Linked DNA regions of Homo sapiens: all the other regions are linked to region 3. Evidence: promoter capture Hi-C in human tissues and cell types (Jung and others, 2019). All regions are on one chromosome and are shown on one strand. Each heading gives the region's core, a stretch centred on a gene start or on the middle of the fragment in contact. The rest is flanking DNA. Distances are from core to core; before and after follow the strand shown. Region 1 overlaps CMTM7 (CKLF like MARVEL transmembrane domain containing 7). Region 2 overlaps CMTM7 (CKLF like MARVEL transmembrane domain containing 7). Region 3 holds the start of CMTM8 (CKLF like MARVEL transmembrane domain containing 8).

Evidence for each region. Contacts are between HindIII fragments. The study calls those that stand out against the background at their distance.
Region 1: a contact is called between a fragment that was not itself captured here and the fragment with the promoter of CMTM8 in region 3, in 1 of the 25 tissues and cell types used here (adrenal gland).
Region 2: a fragment that was not itself captured here is called in contact with the fragment with the promoter of CMTM8 in region 3 in 1 of the 25 tissues and cell types used here (H1 embryonic stem cells).

Annotation. Positions count from the first base shown.
Region 1 is chr3:32,409,428-32,414,375 of GRCh38, forward strand. All of the region lies in intron 1 of CMTM7 (CKLF like MARVEL transmembrane domain containing 7), which reads left to right. Among named protein-coding and RNA genes, the nearest start is that of CMTM7, 20 kb to the left of the region's middle. The HindIII fragment of the contact is 3,147 bases long and covers 1,150-4,296 here.
Region 2 is chr3:32,450,294-32,454,693 of GRCh38, forward strand. CMTM7 (CKLF like MARVEL transmembrane domain containing 7) reads left to right here. Exons shown (of 5, transcript NM_138410.4): 4 at 2,099-2,180; 5 at 3,948-4,400. The coding sequence ends at 3,961. Among named protein-coding and RNA genes, the nearest start is that of CMTM6, 50 kb to the right of the region's middle. RefSeq lists an enhancer at 3,437-3,937. The HindIII fragment of the contact is 6,848 bases long and covers 1-4,400 here.
Region 3 is chr3:32,237,015-32,241,670 of GRCh38, forward strand. CMTM8 (CKLF like MARVEL transmembrane domain containing 8) reads left to right here and starts at 1,666. Exons shown (of 4, transcript NM_178868.5): 1 at 1,666-2,105. The coding sequence starts at 1,959. RefSeq lists a silencer at 1,470-1,679. The HindIII fragment of the contact is 9,285 bases long and covers 1-4,656 here.

The DNA of each region.
Region 1 (4,948 bases), core at 1,473-3,972, 170 kb after region 3:
ACATAATTGCAGTACAGTTACTTAAATCAGGAAATTAATGATACAAATGCTATTAACTTATCTACAAGCCTTACTCAGATTTTGCCATTGACCCACTAATGTCCTTGGGTCTAGGATCCCATCCCAGATCATAAGGTGTATTCAGTTGTCACATCTCTAATTTCCTTCAATCTGGAACAGGTTTTCAGTCTTTCTTGTTCTTCATGACGTCAACATTTGTGGAGAGTCCAGGACACAGCTGTCCCTTCATTGGATATTAAAGTCAGTTTGGTGGGACCCTCTGATTCTCAGCATTTTGTAGCTACACTGGAGGCAGAAGACAAAGAAAGAAAAGAAATCATGTTTGGCATAACTTGTCTCAATTTGAATGCTTTTGTTTTCACAAAAGTCCCTTTTGCAAATGTCTTATCTGAAGTTAATAGTTAGTAGTTCAAGTTGAGCTTTGCTGGATGTCCTGTTCTTTTAAAAAGCCTTAGCTCAGATGTCACCTCCTTGGGATAGTGGCTAACTAGCAAGTCTTATTGTATGAATTTGATGTGAATCACCTCATTTAATCCTCACAATAGCCCTATCATTTAGGTACTCTTATTTTGCGTATTTTATAGTGAGGAAACAAAAACAAACCCAGGTCTAGGGTGCTCTGCTTCCCCTCTGGACTGCCCCCTCTCCTGCCTTAGGAGGGCCTTCGTCAGCCCCTCAGCTAAAGTAGTCCCCTGCACCACCCTGCTACCATCACTCTATCCTGTTTCCCGGTTCTGATTTCATTACAGCACTTTGCCAGCCAGAATCCCTTTGTTCACTTAATTACCTGTTTATGGTAGATCTTCTCTACCAAGACCTGAGCTGCAGAGGGGCAGCCACCTTTCTGTTCAGGTCACCACGGAGTGTCCAGTTCGTAAGGTGGTGCCTGGAACACAGGAAATACTCATCATCTTTTTTCAAATGAACACATGCATATTTTCTTTGACAAAGCCTTTGGTAATAGCACTCCTTTCCAAAGAGTCAGCATGGATGAAGTGCTTGAGAGACTTGGGTCTTCTCCAGAAGAGGAAATAATGCTGTGTCAGACACCTGCTGAGGGAGGGGGCTGGGGTGTGGGCCCAGCAGTGGAAAGAGCCCTTCTGCCAGGCCCAGAACAGGCCATGGGGCCTGGGGCACATATCTTCAAGCCTGCGGGCCAAGAAGCTGGGAAAAGTCACAGAGAGGCTAGGATGCCTAGCAAAGAGAGGCTAGGATTCCTGTCCTGGAGCAGCCCACTCCCACCCCCCACAGTTTGCGATAGAGATGCAGTTTTCGTAGTAGCTGTTAGCCTGTTGTGATAGCACCTTTCTTTTTTCTTTAGTTGAGTTGACAGGTTTCGACAGACTCACAATCAAAACAACAGAAGCAAACAGAGACAAGCAGAGGGATGACAGAAGTGTCTGTCAGCTCATCAAGCTCTCAGGGCAGGGTTTCTAATTTAAAGCAACACCAGGAAACACTGAATAGTGGGATTACTATATTGGATTAAAGGCTAAAAGAATCAAATGCCAGAAGTGGCAAGCTCAGTTTGTGATACCTTTCCTCACTCGAGTGTTAGCCATTTGGTGTGGCCCTTTGCCTGGCAGAGGCGCTACCTTAAGTCACTTCATCAGATGTTTATTGAATGGCTGCTCTGTCCCAGCTCTGTGTCAGCCGCAGGGGATACAGCTGTGAATGAGGCAGAGCCGGCTTCCCTGTCGCTGAAAATCAAGACCCTAAACAAGGATGGTATTTCATCACCTCGAAGGCACCATTGTTTTAGGCACTCCCTAAGAAACAAAGAAAAATAATAATTATGTGGTAACACAAATCTCTCTTATCGTTCAGGATTTTTGTCTTATGCTTATTGAAAGAACTCTTTTAGATTTAATTAAATATAAATTTTACATATTTTTGTGAATATATAAAAAGGAAAATAGGTGAAGAAAAATAAATTGGTTAAGATATCCCTAAAATTTTTTTACAGTCAGAGCCTTCCTCTTCTAAATCTTTTTATTTTTAGAATATTTCTACACAAGCTATTGTCCTCTATGCTATCAAGAGTGTGAGCCATGCAGCATTTCTCAGAAGAATCCACACAAAAACTAAAAGCCATCAGTGCTGGGTTTGTGCACTGGCTTTTGACTCCCACTTTGGGAATGTTGCTAAGTGACCCCCTGAGTCACTGTCCCCGCCATCAGTCCCATACCCTGGGGGTCAAGGTGCTCTACTCTTGTCTCTGAGATTTTCTTCCTCCTGCTGGCACCTATGACACACGTTTTGATGCTGGTGTGTCTGACCTTGCCACATGCATAGGCAGTGATAACTACACAACTGTTTTTCCAGTGGTCATTGAAACACCCCGACTTGGCCAGGCGCAGTGGCTCACGCCTCTAATCCCAACACTTTGGGAGGCCGAGGCAGGCGGATCATTTGAGGTCAGGAGTTCGAACGAAGCTCCAGGCTGAGACCTAATGCACGGGAAGGGGCAAGGCAGGAGGGAAAGGTGGAAGGGTGTCCTGGAGAAGAGAACAGTCTCTGCAAAGTCCCAGAGTTGGGAGAAAAAGTACAAGGTTTGCAATCTTCTTGGTCAGTTCATAAAGTAGGCTTTTTGGTAGTGGTGAAGTATGGAGGATCTGTTAGCCACAAAAATGTTAGTGGTTCCATTGGGCTTTGCCAACATCCGCACCATAGCTAACTGTCTCGTAGAAGCTGCTGGAGGAATTAATGATGCAGTGGGCATGTTAATATACCTAAATTAAAATATTCATTGCAGCCTGGGTGTGGTGGCTCACACCTGTAATCCCAGCACTTTGGGAGGCCGAGGCAGACAGATCACCTGAGGTCAGGAGTTTGAGACCATCCTGGCCAACATGGTGAAACCCCATCTCTACCAAAAATGCAAAAATATTAGCCGGGTATGGTGGCGCACGCCTCTAGTCCCAGCTACTCGGGAGGCTGAGGCAGGAGAATTGCTTGAACCCAGGAGGCAGAGGTTGCAGCGAGCTGAGATCATGCCACTGCACTCCAGCCTGGGCAACAGATTGAGACTGACACACACACACACACACACACACACACACACACACACACACACACACACACACACACACTGCATCATTAATTCCTCCAGCAGTTTTTTTCATCTGGGTCTTAAGTTGAAGGGATTTTATAGACCTAGCGTTTTTTTTTAAGTTTTTGAGATGTTTGTTACTACACAAATATGAATAGGGAAACATTAATATAATTAAATCTGAAAGTTATTTGAAACAACTAAATTCACCCATGCGCCCACCATTCCACAGTTTCTACAATGTTATATTTTGGCCCTTGTTTAAGAATATGTGTAAAGTTTGCAGGGCTGTTACCCTACTGACAATAATAGATTCTGCTTTGTTGCTTATTTTTCTATTACAAAATTTAATATTTGGTAATGTCCCTGTTGCTATAAAAGCTTCATAATTGCACATAATATGTACAATCATCTAAGTGGATATTTTTAAATTTATGTGACCACTCACTTTTAAACATGTAGGTTTGCTTTTGAGCTTTTAGCTACTATAAATGATATTACATTGAACATTTTCAGGGGTTGGCAAACTACAGCCCACAGACCAAATCTGGCCTGCCACCTGTTTTTGTAAATAAAGTTGTATTGGAACACAGCCAAACCCATTCATTCATGTATTACATATGGTCACTTTCACACTAGCACTGCAGAGTGGAGTTGCAATAAAGATTGTGTGGCCCGCAAAGCCTAAAATATGTCCTATTTGGTCATTTACCAAAAAGAAATGGCCAATCGCTGTTTTACGGTATGCAGTAGAGTTTTCTTTTGACTTAGATTATTTTCCTTAAGATAAATTCTGAGAGATGGATATTTATTCACAGGATATATAACTTAGTTTGTTGATTTCAAAATAACCTCTATTTGTAACATGATTATGACCTTAAAGACAGTGACATATCAGAACAAATGAATTAGCTGATTCATTGATACATTCATTTATTAACTGTTATAAGATTAGAGTGATTAGAAGATATTATTAACACACCTTTGGTCCATTTCATTTGTACTCAGAGGTAACTAATCTTCATCTCCATTATAACTCCTCTAATAGCACCCAGTTCTTTTCATTCACAGTGTTTCTCATAGTTTTAGATTTTTTTATTAGTGCAACACTAGCTGCTGTAACAAATAACTCTCAAATGTTACTGGTTTGACACGATAGCTTTCTCCCTCAGCCATTTAGGAACCCCAGCATGGGGGTTCCTGGTCAGTAGGCAGCTTTTTTCCTATGTGGCTATTCAAGTTTGGGCCAAGATTTTTCTATTCTTTTTAAACTACTTTTTTGGGGAAAGAGCCCACTTAAACAGTTGCAGTGGCCATACTGGTGTGTGCCCAAATATCCCCTTTATTGCTGAGGCATTCATCCGCCGCAGGTTCCAAGAATGTGGCCTGCTGAGTCCCTCCCCACAAATTGATGTCCACCAAAGGGACTCGCCTCACCCAAGATGATGCCTAACCTCTCCCTGGGGGCAGCCTGTATCCAGTGGTCAGTGGAGAGTCAGGAAGGCCTGGTCTGCTTGCTTCAACAGAGAAAACTCTGAAGAGCGGTCCTAGCTTCAGTGCTCCTCGGAGTATCAGCCAAGGCCTTTGTTATGACTGCTCAAATCCTCCCTCCACCTGGTCCTGTCTTGCTTACTCTCCCACTGTAATCTCTTGGAGAGCACTCCCCAGTTAACTTTTTGCATGCAAATCTCTTTCTCAGAGTCTATTTCCAGGGAATTCCACCACCCCAGGACCAAATGACCAAGCTACATTTTCTTGGTTCAGTTTTCATTCTCCACGTTCCACTGACGTTGAAAATTTGCACCTTCTTTACCGCTGTATTTCAGCACTGCGTTCACAGCTTCTGTTTGGTGCAAGTCTCTGCTCGTCCCCTCA
Region 2 (4,400 bases), core at 774-3,273, 210 kb after region 3:
ATGTGGTAGCTAGCATGCACCTGTAGTCCCAGGCACTCGGCAGGAATGCTTGTGCCCAGGAGTTCGGTCTGGCCTGGGCAACGTACTGAGACCCTGTGTCTTAAAAAAAGAAAAAGAGAAAAAGAAAAGCTCTCTCTGTATGTGACATTCATTGTCTTTCACTTACGTATATTACCAAAATTTTCCAGACTTTGGCCTGGGAGTGGGTTGGCTCCTGGAATTCCACTGAGGGATGGAGTCTCTCCTCTGAAGGTCAGCATGGGGGCAGAAGGTCACTGTAGAGGGTGGCCAAACCTCCCAACACTGATGCTCCACATGGCCCTCCCACAGCCCACCATCACACCTCTCTGCCCCCTCTCTCTGCTGTCTCTGAAGAGAGGGATGGTTGCCCCCTGAAGCTTAACACCTGCCCAGCTACAGTGCAGGGTACTGGAAGAGGCACACAGGAGACCTGTGCCCACTGTGTTTCCGGGCCCACTTGAGGAGATTCCCACTGTGTTTAGTAATTCAGGTTGCACATAACTGTTTAGCCCTGGAATCTCTATAGCTAACATTCATCATATGCTGTCTGTGTGCCTAGGACCAAACCTGGGCTATGAGGAAGTTAGAAGAAATTTTTAAAATATGGTCCCTGCTTATAAGAAAGTGGTCATCTAGCTTAGGAGACAAGACACATGAAACAATTAGTAAACAAGGCGTTGTAGTCTAGAATAGCATTCTGTAGCGATATAATAAACTGTTCAATTATGCAGTGCAGACAGTTGGGGACCGGGATGGTATATAACGTGCTAATTGTGCAGAACAGACAATGAGAGGCCGGGACAGGCTCTAATAGGCTAATTATGTGCTGTAGACAATTGGTACAAAAGGAGCCCAGGAAAAGAAACCCGGGGAAGAAGTGGATGTGGGCTGGTGGGGGCAGCTGTTTATGTAAAGCAGCATCTGGGCTTGAAAAGAAAACCAAACCTTGTTGAAAATCCTACCCTTAGCTGCCCCTGCGCCATTCTCACTGGACACCAGTGGCGGTGTAGTGAAGTGGAGGCCTTTGTGTGGGTCTGAGAACACCTAGGCACCCGGTACTGCAGAGTGCGGACTCTGGAGCCAGGCTCCCTGGGCTCCCATCCCATATCTGGCCCTTGCTGGCTCTGTGGCCTTCGGCAAAACAGATGACCGCCTGTACCTCTGTTTCTTTAGCTGTGAAATGGAGGAGCAGGGTGGGTAATCCTAGCACCCACCCAGCAGAGTTGTGAGGGTTAAAGGAATCAATACACCCACAGGGCCTCACACCCTGGTAGGGATGTAGTAAAGTGGTCAGTAAGTTTTCACCACTGCAGCTGCCGGTGTTGTTCACAAGCAAGGAAAATGGCTGCAGGCTTCAAAGCCCAGAGATTCCAGAAGAAGCTACTGCCTCTTCCTCGACCATTTGATGAGCCTCCCACAGGCACTCTTCGTCTCCCAGCACCCGAATCTCATCTACAAGTGAGGGGGCTGGGCTAGGTCAGCCTTCCTCACACTTGAGCGCTGGATGACCCTGAGAAAGGGAAAGGGTGCTGCCTTGACTTAGTTGAGTCTAATATTGTTTAATATGTACAAACGTAAACCTAGATGTAAAGGCCTCGGCTTCTGGCTCTAATACGGCTATGAAGCCAGAATGGAACAGAAAGTCATTACAAATGAAATGCGAACAACGCCACTACACCACAAATCATGGGAACGTTCAGATTTTTTTAACCCAAATTAAAATTTCATCCTTTTCTTCTCTTTTGGTCCAGGATAATCAAAGTCCATTGGCTTAGCCCCAGCTTGCTTGTAAATGTAAACCCAGACCAGGCACTGAAGCTGCCAAGAGTGAAGACCGAGAGGCCTGGCTGCCAGCCCTGACCTGGCCCAACCTGGAGGACTGGGGCCAGTGGCTGGGCCTCGCGGGGCTTCCTCTCTGCACCTGATCCAGGATGAGGTGGTTGGGTTAGATGACTCTCCAAGCTCCTTTCTGGCCAGAGACATGAAGGGAACAAGCACAGAGATGAGAAGCAGACAGGATTGCCCGAGTAATTAGCCCTATGGCCTGTGAACTTCCTCTCCCCTCTCTCCACTGCAGATCTTTGGTTTCATGGCCACCTTCCTCTGCATGGCAAGCATATGGCTGTCCTATAAGATCTCGTGTGTAACCCAGTCCACAGGTGAGTTCTGGTTATCTGTGCACAGAGGATCTCTCAGGAACAGGGGGATGGCTTGTTCTTGACTTCAGCCATAGGGACAAACCCTGCTGTTGAGAAGGCTGTGTTCCAAGGGGACTTTAGAAGTAGTATTAGAGCACAGGGGCCAGCAAAGGGGAAGATGTGACCCCAGAATCTCCCCTCACATTCCCATCTCCACACATCCAAGGATGCCCTAACATTTCAGCCTCGGGTGGCCAAGCTTTTTTCTCTTTCTTGCTTCCTTTCTTTCTTTTTCTTTACTTTTCTTTTTTTTTTTTTGAGATTGGGTTTTGCCCTGTTGTCCAGGCTGGTGCAGTGGTACGATCAGAGCTCACTGCAGCCTCCGCCTCCCAGGCTCAAGTGATCCTCCAACCTCAGCCTCCTGAGTACCTGGGACTACAGGTGTGCACCACCATGCCTAATTTCAATTTTTTTTTTTTTTTTTTTTTTTTTTTTTTTTTTAGAGTTGGAGTCTCACCATGTTGCCCAGGCTGGTCTCAAACTCCTGGGCTCAAGCAGTCCTCCCACCTCAGCCTCTGAAAGTGCTGGGATTATAGACATGAACCACCGCACCCAGCCAGCTTTTTCTTAAGTTTCCTAATGACAAAAATAAAATGTAGGTTTTTAGAAAATACAGATAAAAAATATGTTTAATAGAAACCGTCTGAACCAGGGACAGTGGTGTGTACCCATAGTACCAGCTACTCAGGTGGCTGAGGCAAGAGGATCACCTGAGCCCAGGAGTTTGAGACCAATCTGAGCAACATAGTCAGACTCCGTCTCTTAAAAAATAAAATAAAATAAGAAAAAGCCATCTGTCATCACACTACCCAGAAGTAGCACTGAGTATCCTTTCGATATTTTCTCTCTGAAAATATATATATCTGTTGCTTTTATTAAAAGGATCAAACTTCATGTGCTGTTTCATAATATGTTTTTTCTCCTACTTAGCCACTGACCAAACATTTTCCCAACATCATTAGGAATTCTTAGCAACTCCGTGGGTTGCAGCATTAAGTCCATCGCATGACTGTGCAGTTTATTTAACTTGCCTCCTCTTTGAGGGCATTACTCATGGAATCCTACACTGAGCCCATGTAGTGTAGGATTCCACTAATAAGAATCGTCTAGAGCAGGCAGATTCATAGAGACACAAGGTAGACCCATGGCGGCCTGGGGCTGCTGGGAGAGGACTCAGGTGTGACTGCTAATGAGGATGAGGCTTCTTTTTGAGGTGATGAAAAGGCTCTAAAATTGTGGTTGCACAGTCCTGTGAATATACTGAAAAACACTTTAGATGGGAGAATTGTATGGTATGTGAATTATTAAAATATCCCAGTAAAGCTGTTTAAGAAAAAAAAGAATGATTTTTAAACGTAGAGAATATAGGGGAAAAGAGAAGTTAATAGGTGGTGTCTAACAGGATAAATCTATAAATATTGGTATAAATTGGTTTTTTGAATTATGGAAGAATCACCAAAAGAAATGGCTAAAAGGCTTGGGAGGTTGCTGCTGAGGAGTAAGACTGAGGTCGGGGGAGTGCGGATGGGAGTCACCTCTGCACTACCGAAGTTTTTTCCTTGTTTGGAAATGTATTTTTAAAAAATGGAATAATCTCAGTGCAAGTCGGCACTGGGTGGAGGACACAGGTGCCCCCCTGAGCAGAACTTGGAGTCAAACCTGTGGAGTGTGGCTTGTGGGTGGGCCACATCCCTGGCAAGCTGTCCTGACTGCCATTTCCTTCCCAAGATGCAGCCGTCTGATGAGGCCACAACCCCTAGGCCCCTCAGGAGCTTTGCAGAGAGGAGGACGTGTACTCCAGGCGAGGCCTCTGGACCTGTGTTCCTGTGCCAAAGTCCTGTCAGGCTGGTGGGCACCAGGAAAGGCCTGCACCCTCTTCCTGCTCTCCCAGGAAGCCAGCTCCCTGAGCTCCTGAGCCAGCCGGAAACTCTTCCTCCAGCCTTCCGGGGAGAACATCCCTCCCATTCTGGGAAAGGAAAGCAGCCTCCAGGGAAATGTTTTCTGCCTTCCTGCTTCTAGAACCACCTCAGGTACTGATGAACCCCACTTAGCACAGCTGAAGGGGTTTGTGAATACTCCCGCCTAAATCCCTTCTACTTCACTCCTCAGGGGAGTGAAGTGCCTTAAGAAACAAAGCCCTGTCCTAATTTATCTAGCTTGTCAGTCCGGTCTTAGAGATAC
Region 3 (4,656 bases), core at 416-2,915:
TCTTATTTCCCCAAACTCATTAACAGTTTCTCTAAAGCAGCAGCTAACTTCAGCATGCATCAGTGTCTTTTGGAGGGCTTGTTCAAACACAGCTTCCTGGCTCCACCCTCAGAGTTTCTGATTCAGAGGGTCTGGGGGTGGGGCTTGAGACCTTGCATTTTTGATAAGTTCCCAGGGAACTTACCTGCTGTTGGTCCAAGGACCACTTTGAGAACTACTGCTCCAGGGAGAAGTGCTATATTTTAAATTTTAAGAATTTACCCACCAGCCCAAGGTGCTTACCAAATGCACATGGATGGAATCTCTCCAAATCTACATCTTTGCCATGCTTTTGAAGCCTTAACTTTTACTCCTGGAGGTCTTCCTGGCTAGGCCCTAGACTTAAAAGACACTAATTCCTTGTTTTATTTTATTAGATTGTCGTTTTTGCTTTCTTCTCAGCACACTTGATAAGACACTGTGAAGAAAATGTCCCTTCTGATCTCGTTTTTAACCTGTCTTGGAACAGATCAGCAGAAATGCCTTCACTGTGAATCAAAGATACCCTCGATTTATAGCCAAAGATTATTTCCTTTTCTTTTGGTGGCTTCCAGATAAAATGTTTCTTGCTACCCTTTCACAAAATAGAAGGAGGGACCAAGCGGAAGATAATCTTTTTGTTCAGAGGTCCATCTGTCAAAGCCTGCATTTTAGAGATGGCATTACTGAGGTCCAAAAACTAGAGCCACTCGCTCTGGGTCATACAGCCGATAAACGCACGCAGCCGAGCTCAGTTCTTCCCTGACCCTGTTACAAACTGCCTCACTAAATGAGGACCCCCATCCCCTTCCCATGCCAGGAAAGCACAGCTCATTTGTCCTAAAGTTAACATTACACAAATCACACCCTTCAAGCCTTCTTGAAACATTTTTTTTCCCCGAGGGTGACGGGACGGTTACGCTGATTCATCCTGGCCAGGGACCCCAAACATCTCCCCTCCTCCGGCCCAGGCGCCGTCACCCAGGCTCCACCGGTCCGCGGGACAGAGCCGCGGAGAGCGCCTGGAAGCGTCGCGCCCTCAAAGCCAAGCGATTAAGTTGGTTCCTCAAATTGTTCCCGACAGGAGGGGCAGGAAATAACACCGGGCTCTGGCGGCGGCCGCAGCAGGAGGGGGAGAAGAGCGGGCCGTCTCCCGGGCAGTGCTGGCGGCCTCTCATCGATCTCGGGTCTAAGGTCCGGCCGGGTCATCATTCCTGCCATTTCCACAGCATTCGAGGTACCACATCACCCCCTGCCTCGGTCGTCGCTCAGTCATTCCCTCCGCGCCGAGTCCTGGAGCGGCGGAGTCCCTGGAGGCCTGGGTTTCCTTAAGGGGCCCCAATGCCCGCAGCCCCCGACCCGCCCAGGTGGAAGGAAACAGGCTGCGGGCCTGGGCCAGGCGGGGCCTGACAGAAGTAAAGGCCGGGAGGGGGAGCGGAAGACGGCCAGAAGGACCCCTGCGCCCTCTCCTCCGCGCCGCCCGCCAGGCTGCCAACCCAGCCACCCTGGGTGCGACGCGGCGCCTTCTCCGCCGCTGGGAGTCGGGCAACAGGTGAAGAGGGCGGGCGTCCGCGGCGCCTCCGCGGGGCGGTCCCTCTCCTGCCCGCCTCCCGCCCGCCCCTCTCCCCGCCCCCTCCCCTCCTCCGGGCCTCCACCGCCTTCCCCGGCTGCCCGGCAGCCTCCCCTCGCTCGCTCTCCTCTTCCTCTAGGGCCCCAGCGCAGCTCGGGAGCCCGCGCACCGAGGCGCTAGGGGCACCGCGCACTAGAGGGACACCCGCCGCGCCTGGACAGCCCCCGGCGGGCGCCCCCCTCGCACCTCCTGCCCCGCGCGGGCCGCGCTCCCCTCCCCCGCGCCTGTGTCCCCAGGGCGCAGGGCCGCGCGTCCAGCCCCAGACCCGCCGGGGTCCCTGGGGACGCGCCAGCCCGGCAGTGGCTCGACGATGGAGGAGCCGCAGCGCGCCCGCTCGCACACAGTCACCACCACCGCCAGCTCCTTCGCAGAGAACTTCTCCACCAGCAGCAGCAGCTTCGCCTACGACCGGGAGTTCCTCCGCACCCTGCCCGGCTTCCTCATCGTGGCCGAGATCGTGAGTGCCGACGGGCCGGGGGTGGCGGGGGGCTCAGCTGGACCCCGGCGCGTGCTTCCGCCGTGCTTCTCGGGATGGAGCCTGCTCAGATCTTCCCGCGGGCTTTAGGGAACCGTTTTTGCTCAGCCTCGCCTTCTTCCCAAAGTGAAAGACTCTAAACAAGGTCCAGGAAACTCGGGCTGTCCTGGGAAGAAAGGGTTGTGATCCTCAGGATGTCTTGCTGTGGGAGAAATTCAGCTTGTTGGGTCCTCTCGGTGGCGGCGGCAGATCCTGGGAGCAGGAAGCTTGGCTTAGTGGCTATTGAGTTTGTGTTGAGTGTCAGAGACACCTGGTGCCTTTCTCACCTGATCTCCACGTGGATGGCCTCCTCCCTGAAAATAAAGCTTCCTAAGATCAGGGGAAGAGGAAAGGGCTTCTTTCTTTTCCTAATTATCTCCCTGGTAGTAACATTGAGGTGAGTCAGGAAAATTTTACTGAATAAAATCTGAGTGCCATAACCTATTTTAGGACCAAAGAGGTCTTTTGCATGGTGCTGTGCACATCCTGGTTTAGGCTCAGAACATTCCTGGGAAGGAGGCAGGGCATGGGCGTTCTTCTCTTCATTGGAGGGCATAGAGGCTGAAAACTCACGTGATCTTCCCAGAAGTCCCAGCCAGTCCTTCATAGCTGAGAAAGGACTGGAGTCCTGTCAGCAGTTAGAGGTGGTCACTGTTTGAGTCTTCTTCGTGTACCAGGATCTTGTCAAGCCCTTTAGATGTCCTCATACCCTCGTGTAATCCAACGACCACCCTCCCCTGTGAAGGCCTAGAGAGGGGACGTAAATCACACCGGTGGATGGTGAAGCATGGATTCAAACCCAGGCCTGCCTTTCTGCAGGGCCGTGCTCATAACTGCAAGCAGTTGAGACAGCTTCCAGCTGCCCCAGCAGTGCCCCTCTGTCATCTCTCACAGACTTTTGTTAAATATTTGGGAATTGAAAATGAGCCTATGTGGGAGTTAGAGAATGGGCACACCATCATGGTGCAGAAGTGACTGAAGACCTGGGCGGTTCCTTTGAGAAACCTGAAGTAAATCTTGTGTACCTCAAGTAGCTTGCTTGCTCCCCCAGTCTCAGATACCACCCGGACCTGCTCTATGAAGCCCCTGGTGGTCATAATGCACATAAGGTATGAGAAGTGTTGGCTTAGCTCCTCTCCCAGCTGGTTCCCTCAGCGAGTATTGAGGACTTCAGGAGACTCAAAAGCTGAAGGTATTGGAATCGCCTTGCAGGGCCTAGCTTTTAGGAGTTCAACAAATATTTGCTGTGCAAATGAAGGAGTTGGCAGGCTCCTCTGCTTCAGCAGCGCAAACAAAAGCTAAAATGACAGAGATGGGCCTTCTACCTTGGGGTGGATTTGGGCCAGGCATGAAGTATAACGCCTTTGGGTTTTTTTCTGATTTATTATCGATATGCTCTGTGTACTGCGCTTTTTCAGGAAATACAAAAGTGAAAGAAATGTAAGTGGCCCACAATCCCATTACTAGAAATAATCACTGTTGACATGTTAGCATGTATCCTTTTAGATTTCATTAAGCGTTTTGAAAAAGATGGGAAAACATGTAAGCAAAATCACCCTTATTACTACTATAGTTTTTATTTTTGACAGAGCTAATTATGCACCTTTTTTGTTTGTTTTGTTTTGTTTTGAGACAGGGTTTTGCTCTGTCTCCCAGGCTGAGGTGCGGTGGCACCATCATGGTTCACTGCCGCCTTGACCTCTTGGGCTCAAGCGATCTTCCCATCTCAGCCTCCCAAGTAGCTGAGACCACAGGCATGCACCAACACACTTGGATAATTTTTAATTTTTTTCTAGGGACGGGGTCTCTCTGTGTTGCCCAGGCTGCTCTGAAACTCCTAGGCTCAAGCAATCCTCCTGCCTTGGCCTCCTAAGGTGCTGGGATTGTAGGCATGAACCACTGTGCCCCACCTTATGCACATATTTTAAAGATTCGGTCCTACAGGCAGAAATATAAGTTTCTCCCAGTGTCTTCATCTCTTTGAGCTCTAAACAACGTGTTTATAATGCTGTTTATTGGTGTTCCCTCACCCACCCAGTCATAGACATTATCCATTGCCTTTCTACTCTGAAAGATGAGGCTTTAGCTGGGATGCCCTCTTCCCTGCCTCCAATTATACATACCCTCTTCCTGTCTCCCAATATAGGTCCAAACACTTCTGATGGTTCAACTTAGGAATTTTCAGCTTTACAGATGTTGTAAAAGCAGTATGCATTCAGTAGAAATCATACTTCGAATTTTGAATTTTGGTCTTTTCCCAGGCTAATGATATTCGGTAGATATTTTTTCATGATGCTGGTCAGCTCTCAGCCACCCATGCCATCACCAGCGCAAACCACCCATCCTCTCCAGCATGCTGTGCTGCTGGGTGATTCTGCCAGCTGTAGGCTAACCTAAGTGTTCTGAGCACGTTTAAGATAGGCTAGGCTTAGCTATGATGTTTGGTAGGCTAGGGGTATTAAATGCATTTTTGACTTCGGATACTTTCCACTTA